Linked DNA regions of Homo sapiens: region 2 is linked to region 1. The links are contacts of gene promoters, found by promoter capture Hi-C in blood cells and fetal thymus (Javierre and others, 2016). All regions are on one chromosome and are shown on one strand. Each heading gives the region's core, a stretch centred on a gene start or on the middle of the fragment in contact. The rest is flanking DNA. Distances are from core to core; before and after follow the strand shown. Region 1 holds the start of IFNL1 (interferon lambda 1). Region 2 overlaps ACP7 (acid phosphatase 7, tartrate resistant (putative)).

What was found. Contacts are between HindIII fragments. The CHiCAGO score rates a contact against its expected background, and 5 or more counts as called.
Region 2: a fragment that was not itself captured here is called in contact with the fragment with the promoter of IFNL1 in region 1 in 1 of 17 cell types (endothelial precursors); the score reaches 5.8 in endothelial precursors.

Annotation. Positions count from the first base shown.
Region 1 is chr19:39,295,104-39,298,910 of GRCh38, forward strand. It overlaps IFNL1 (interferon lambda 1), which reads left to right and starts at 1,304. Exons shown (of 5, transcript NM_172140.2): 1 at 1,304-1,489; 2 at 1,702-1,779; 3 at 2,861-3,004; 4 at 3,110-3,193; 5 at 3,288-3,570. The coding sequence starts at 1,319. The coding sequence ends at 3,413. The HindIII fragment of the contact is 6,887 bases long and covers 988-3,807 here.
Region 2 is chr19:39,106,800-39,110,574 of GRCh38, forward strand. ACP7 (acid phosphatase 7, tartrate resistant (putative)) reads left to right here. Exons shown (of 13, transcript NM_001004318.3): 12 at 148-285; 13 at 3,254-3,775. The coding sequence ends at 3,319. Among named protein-coding and RNA genes, the nearest start is that of PAK4, 17 kb to the right of the region's middle. RefSeq lists an enhancer at 3,635-3,704. The HindIII fragment of the contact is 5,363 bases long and covers 1-3,775 here.

The sequences.
Region 1 (3,807 bases), core at 54-2,553:
TTTAAGGGCAGGTGCAGGGTGTCCCAGCTCATAAGAGAGAGCAAATTCTCCTTTCCTCTGCCTTTTTGTTCTATTCAGGCCCTCGGCCAATTGGATGGTGCCCACCACATTGGGTAACAACGGGTCTTCCTTACTCAGTCCATTGATTCAAATGCCAATCTCTTCTGGAAACACCCCAGAGTCATACCCAGAATTAACGCATCACCAGCTATCTGATAAACTTAACCAGTCAAGGTGACACCTAAAATTAACCATCACAATTATAAAAATAACTACTCAGAGAAACATTAGGAGCATGAACTGAAATTAGTTAATGGGACATTCTTAAACCAATGGCAGAAGCTCCTTCTTGGCCAGGAGCAGTGGCTCATGCCTTTAATACTAGCACTTTGCGAGGCTGAAGCAGGAGGATGGCTTAAGGCCAGGAGTTCAAGACTGGCCTGGGCAACATAGTGAGACCCCTATCTCTACAAAAATAAATAAATAAATAATAAAGTAAGGTGGTGGCTCACGCCTGTAATCCCAGCACTTTGGGAGGCCAAGGCAGGCAGATCATCTGAAGTCAGGAGTTCGAAGCCAGCGTGACCAACATAGTAAAACCCAGTCTCTACTAAAAATACAAAAACTAGCCAGGCGTGATGGCATGCACCTGTAATCCCAACTACTTAGGAGGCTGAGGCAGGAGAATCGCTTCAACTCGGGAGGCAGAAGTTGCAGTGAGCCAAGATTGCACCATTGCACTCCAGCCTGGGCAACAAGAGCAAAACTACGTCTCAAAAAATAATAATAACAATAAAATAAAAAACAAGCTTTTTTTTTTTTGAAACAGGATCTCACTCCATCACCCAGGCTGGAGTGCAGTGGCACGATCTTGGCTCACTGCAACCTCCGCCTCCCGGGTTCAAGTGATTCTCATGCCTCGGCCTCCTGAGTAGCTGAGACCACAGGCGCATGCCACCACACCTGGCTAATTTAGAATAAAAAAGAAGCTTCCTCTCTGCCACTCAGGTAGCCTTATCCCTAATCTCAGCCTCCGTCAGGGACTCCCTGAGGCCAGTTGGCTGAAAGCTGCCCAGGGAGTTCTAAGGATTTCAGTTTCTCTTTCCTTCTTGATGCAGCTCCCAGCTCACTTGGCCCTGCCCACACCTGTTCCCTCATCAGGCTCCCAGACGGGCCCCGCCCACTCATGCCTCTTAAGTCAAAGTGGAAATTCTCATTTCCAATTACCTTTTCACTTTACACACATCATCTTGGATTGCCCATTTTGCGTGGCTAAAAAGCAGAGCCATGCCGCTGGGGAAGCAGTTGCGATTTAGCCATGGCTGCAGCTTGGACCGTGGTGCTGGTGACTTTGGTGCTAGGCTTGGCCGTGGCAGGCCCTGTCCCCACTTCCAAGCCCACCACAACTGGGAAGGGCTGCCACATTGGCAGGTTCAAATCTCTGTCACCACAGGAGCTAGCGAGCTTCAAGAAGGCCAGGGACGCCTTGGTGAGTTCCTGTTGCTGTGGATGAACCACTTCTACGGGTGTCCCAATTACTGCCCTTCTACTGTGGGCTAGCCTCTAGCCTTCCAACTATGGCAAACCTCTATCCTTTCTGCACTGGGTTAAACCCATGCTGTCAGGCCAACTTCATCCTTGCTGCTATGAGCTAGCTTCCAGCCATCCTGCTGTGGGCTAACCCCTGCCCTTGCTCTCTAGGAAGAGTCACTCAAGCTGAAAAACTGGAGTTGCAGCTCTCCTGTCTTCCCCGGGAATTGGGACCTGAGGCTTCTCCAGGTGAGCTGAAAGTCAGGCCCCCTTCACCCTTCCCTTGACCCTCTCCCCCCTCTTCTTAAGTGGCCCCTTAGCCTTCTTTGTTTCCCTTGTCCTTCACTCTCTTGGACCTCTCCTCACCTGTCCTGTGCCCCTGCCACTTCAAAACTGCTCTCTTGACTCTGTCCTTCCCCTGGGTCCCTTTTATCATCTCCCATCGGCCCCACTTCCCTAGCTCGCTCACCTGTCCCTGTCACTTCCACTCTCACTCTTCATTTCTCTCCCAAATGTCTCCAGTCTGTCGCCCACCTGTGCCTTTCGTCCTGCTCCACTTCTCCCTGTCTGTTCCCAACACTGACCCCCTCTCCCTCTCACCTGCCTCTGTCACCTGTCCCTCATTATCTCTCACTGACATTCATCCAGCTCATGCTCCCCCCTCATCCACCCTTCTCTTTTTTTTTTTTTTTTTTTTTTTTTTGAGACAGAGTCTTGCTCTATGGCCCAGGCTGGAGTGCAGTGGCATGATCTCGGTTCACTGCAACCTCTGCCTCCCGGGTTCAAGCAATTATCCTGCCTCAGCCTCCCGAGTAGCTGGGATTACAGGCATGTGCCATGATGCCCAGCTAATTTTTGTATTTTTAGCAGAGACGGGGTTTCACTATGTTGGCCAGGCTTGGTCTCGAAATCCTGACCTCAGGTGATCCACCCGCCTCGGCCTCCCAAAGTGCTGGGATTACAGGCGTGAGCCACCACACCCAGCCCTACCCTTCTTCTCTGTGCATGCAACTGTCCCTCTCTTACTGTGCCCCCAACCTGCTTTCTCCTCACCCGTCCCCACCCCGCCCCAGAGAACTTCTGTGACCCCCGTAAGTCCCCTTTCATTTGTCTCCATTTCACTTATCCCCTCACCTGCCTCCTTGACCATCCTGCCTCACCTGTATCCTTCCTCATGTCTTCCCCCTCCTGTCTCCTTCTCCCCAGACCCCTCACCTGTCCCCACCACATGCACTGTGTCACCGACCTTCCCCAGGACTGCCTACCTGTCCCCACTAACTGGGTCTTCTTGCCTGTTCTCCCTCACCTGCTCTTTCTCACCTCTCCTCAGGTGAGGGAGCGCCCTGTGGCCTTGGAGGCTGAGCTGGCCCTGACGCTGAAGGTCCTGGAGGCCGCTGCTGGCCCAGCCCTGGAGGACGTCCTAGACCAGCCCCTTCACACCCTGCACCACATCCTCTCCCAGCTCCAGGCCTGTGTGAGTCCTTGGGGCCCGGGCACCCAGGTCTGTGGGCTCTGAGCAGCATCCTTCCCCTGTGGTGGCCCAGGCTCCGCCTCACACACCGCCCTCTTCTGCCCACAGATCCAGCCTCAGCCCACAGCAGGGCCCAGGCCCCGGGGCCGCCTCCACCACTGGCTGCACCGGCTCCAGGAGGCCCCCAAAAAGGTGAGTGACCCAGGAAGAGAAGGACCAGGGTCTGGGGAGCCAATAGGAGCCCAGACCCTGGACAGCCCCTGACCCATCCCCTCCTCCCCTACAGGAGTCCGCTGGCTGCCTGGAGGCATCTGTCACCTTCAACCTCTTCCGCCTCCTCACGCGAGACCTCAAATATGTGGCCGATGGGAACCTGTGTCTGAGAACGTCAACCCACCCTGAGTCCACCTGACACCCCACACCTTATTTATGCGCTGAGCCCTACTCCTTCCTTAATTTATTTCCTCTCACCCTTTATTTATGAAGCTGCAGCCCTGACTGAGACATAGGGCTGAGTTTATTGTTTTACTTTTATACATTATGCACAAATAAACAACAAGGAATTGGAACCTTCTGTGATAGGTGAATCCTTGAGTGTGTGTGTGATTGTGGGTCTGTGACTGGGTGTGGATGTCTGGGTGATGCAGGCAAAATTTGTGACTCGTTGTGTATATTTGTGTGTGCCTGACTTCTGTGACTATGTATGTATTTGTATGGAAATGAGTGTCTGCCTGAACTTGAGTCTAACCAAAGGTGCGTAACTGTGCATGTTCATGCCCACACGTGTGCAAGTATGTGTGTGTACT
Region 2 (3,775 bases), core at 834-3,333, 190 kb before region 1:
AGGCATGAGCCACTGCGCCCGGCCTCTATGGTGGTCAAGTCTTCACTGTCTTCCTTGAGGGCAGCAGGGTCCTGGGCTAGCAGGTCATTTCTGCTTCCCCGCGGGTCCTCCACCTGCTCTGGGTCTGATCAGTTCTCCCCGCCCCAGGGCTGTGAGGAGCGGCTGACGCCCTTTGCTGTCTTCCCGAGGCCCTGGAGTGCCGTGCGTGTGAAGGAGTACGGGTATACGCGGCTGCACATCCTCAACGGGACCCACATCCACATCCAGCAGGTGTCGGACGACCAGGTCAGTGAGGGGCAGGCCGAAGTCACCTGACTGTACAGCCAGGCCCCTCCAAGCAAATGAGCTGTTAAAAACGTGGGCTCGGCCGGGCGCAGTGGCTCATGCCTGCAACACCTGCAATTTGGTGGGGCTAAGGTATGAGGATCGCTTGAGTCCAGGAGTTCAAGACCAGCCTGGGTACCATGGTGAGACCTAGTCTCTACAAAAAATACAAAAAATGGCCAGGCACGGTGGCTCATGCCTGTAATTCCAGCACTTTGGGAAGCCGAGGCAGGCGGATCACAAGGTCAGGAGATCGAGACCATCCTGGCTAACATGGTGAAACCCCTTCTCTACTAAAAATACAAAAAAAATTAGCCAGGCGTGGTGGCAGGTGCCTATAGTCCCAGCTACTCGGGAGGCTGAGGCAGGAGAATGGCGTGAACCCGGGAGGCAGAGCTTGCAGTGAGCCGAGATCGCACCACTCCAGCCTGGGCGACTGAGCAAGACTCTGTCTCAAAAAAAAAAAAAAAAAAAAAATTAGGCCAGGTGCGGTGGTTCATACCTGAAATCCCAGCACTTTGGGAGGCTGAGGTGGGCAGATCACTTGAAGTCAGGAGTTAGAGACCAGCCTGGCCAACATGGTGAAACCCCGTCTCTACTAAAAATACAAAAATGAGCTGGCCATGGTGGCGGGTGCCTGTAATCCCAGCTACAAGGGAGGTTGAGGCAGGAGAATCACTTAAATCTGGGAGGTGAAGTTTGCAGTGACCCAAGATGGCACCACTGCCCTCCAGCCTGGGAGACAGAGTGAGACTCTGTCTTGGAAAAAAAAGGAAAATTAGTCAAGTGTGGTGGCAGATGTCTGTAGTCCCAGCTACTTGGGAGGCTGAGGCAGGAGGATCACTTGAGTGCAGGAGTTAGAGTTTGCAGTGAGCTATGATCTCGCCTCTGTACTCCAGCCTTGGCAACAGAGTGAGACCCTAACTCAAAACAAAAAAACGAACAAATGTGGACTGTAGAACTAGAAACCTGCTCCTGCTGCTTACCAGCTGAGTGACCTTGAGTCACTCATCTAATTTTTTTTTTTTTTTTTTGAGATGGAGTCTCGCTCTGTCACCCAGGCTGGAATGCAGTGGTGCAGTCTTGGTTTACTGCAACCGCCACCTCCCAGGTTCAGGCAATTCTCCTACCTCAGCCTCCCGAGTAGCTGGGATCACAGGCGCCCACCACCACACCCGGCTAATTTTTTGTATTTTTAGTAGAGACAGGGTTTCACTGTGTTGGCCAGAATGGTCTCGAACTCCTGACATCAGGTGATCTGCCTGCCTCAACCTCCCAAAGTGCTGGGATTACAGGTGTGAGCCACTGTGCTGGGCCCACTTATCTAACTTCTTTGCCTCAGTTTTCCCATCTGTGAGAGGGGATAATCATAGTTTCCACCTCACAGGACTACATGGGGGTTGAAGGACTTATTATATATAAAATGCTTAGAAGAGTGCGGAACTTGGTAAATTCTGTAGGTATTTACCATTGTGAGGCAGGGGAAGATAAAGATGGGGGGTGGGACACAGGTAGGGGAAAACAATAAGATGAGTATGTGGTACAGGTGGCTTAAGGTTAGGTGGATCCAAATAATAATGGCTCACCTTTCTTTATTTTTGCCATTGTAGTTTTAAAATAATGACAATATTTATGATTTATTGAGCACCTACTGCATACCAGGCACTGCCTAGATGCTCTGCATTTAGTAGCACTTTATTTATTTATTTGTTTTTGAGACAGAGTTTCACCCTGTCGCCCAGGCTAGAGTGCAGTGGTGCAATCTAAGCTCACTGCAACCTCCACCTCCCAGGTTCAAGCAATTCTCCTGCCTCAGCCTCCCGAGTAGCTGGGATTACAGGCACATGCCACCACACCCGGCTAATTTTTTGTATTTTTAGTAGAGATGGGGTTTCACCATGTTAGCCAGGCTGGTCTTGAACTCCTGACCTCAGGTGATCCACCCACCTGGGCCTCCCAAAGTGCTGGGATTACAGGCATGAGCCACCGCATGCGGCCCCAGTAGCACTTTATACACCAAAACAATCCCACAGGAGTGGATTTCCTCTCCATTTTATAGGTGAGGGAACTGAGGCTCAGAGAGGGGAAGTAATTTTCCCAGGGTCACACAGTTGGAGGACGGCCAAGCTGGGATCTGATAGCTACCATTTATCGAGTGGCACATGCACCGGGCGCAGACTTTTGTGTGCATGATCTCACTCTGTTCTCATGATGACTCTGGGCATCTATTACTTTGTGCATTGCATAGAACATGGAAGTTTTGCTCAGAGAGTCCAGCAACATGCTTAAGGCCACCTAGAGGGTGGATGCGCTGGCCAGGTGCAGCAGCTCATGCCTTTGGGAGGCTGAGGCAGGCGGATCACTTGAGGTCAGGAGTTCGAGACCAGCCTGGCCAACATGGTGAAACCTTGTCTCTAGTAAAAATACAAAAATTAGCCAGGCATGGTGGTGCATGCCTGTAATCCCAGCTACTTGGGAGGCTGGGGCAGGAGAATGGCTTGAACCTGGGAAGCGGAGGTTGCCACTGCACTCCAGCCTGGGTGACAGAGCAAGACTCTGTCTAAAAAAAAAAAAAAAAAAAAAAAAGGAGAGAGAGAGAAAGAGTGGATGTGCTGGAATATAAAGCAAGGTCTGTCTGACTCCAGAGTTTGTGCTCTAATAATAGCCTACACTTACATAGCCCTTTCCATATGCTGGGCTCTGTTTACAAATACTATCTCATTTAACTCCCACAACATCTATGATGTGGGTACTGTTACTCTTCCTATCACTTTTCAGATGAGGAAAACTGAGGCCCAGAGAGGCCTAGCCACTTGCTCAGGGTTGTACAGCCCATCAGAGGGCAGAGAGGGGACTGGAACCCAGGCCATGTGGCCCCAGAGTTCAGGCTTTCAGCTCTAACTACTGTCCCTGTTTTTGTCCCTCACAGGATGGGAAGATCGTAGATGATGTCTGGGTGGTGAGACCCCTGTTTGGCCGGAGGATGTACCTCTAGGGATGGCGGCAGCTCTCCTCCAGAAGCCTAGGTTTTGCCGCCTTGGCTGCTGTGACCAGAAACTGCCCAGGCCTGGGTGGGGAGTTGGGTGGGCCCTGACTCCCCTGCCCTCCAGAGGCCCCATGTAGGGTACATGCAGCCCTATGGAGCTGGGGCAGCTGTTCCCTCCTGGAGAGGTGGGAGTCCTGGCTGGCTGTGGAGGGAGGGCAGGTGTGCGGGCACAGAGTGACACACGGCAGGTTTCTGCTGGCAGGGCCCCACCCTCCTGCATAGCTCTGATCGGGCGAGGTGCCCACGGGGCTTCAGGAATGAAGAGGCTTAAGCTCTGGCTCCATGGATTCTGCACATCTGCGGGGGATGCCGCTGGGCTTCCTCCTCTCCTGCCCACCTGGCAAGGGCATCGCCAGGTGGGCACAACCGTCATGACACTACTCACCAGCAGGTGGCGTCAGGGGC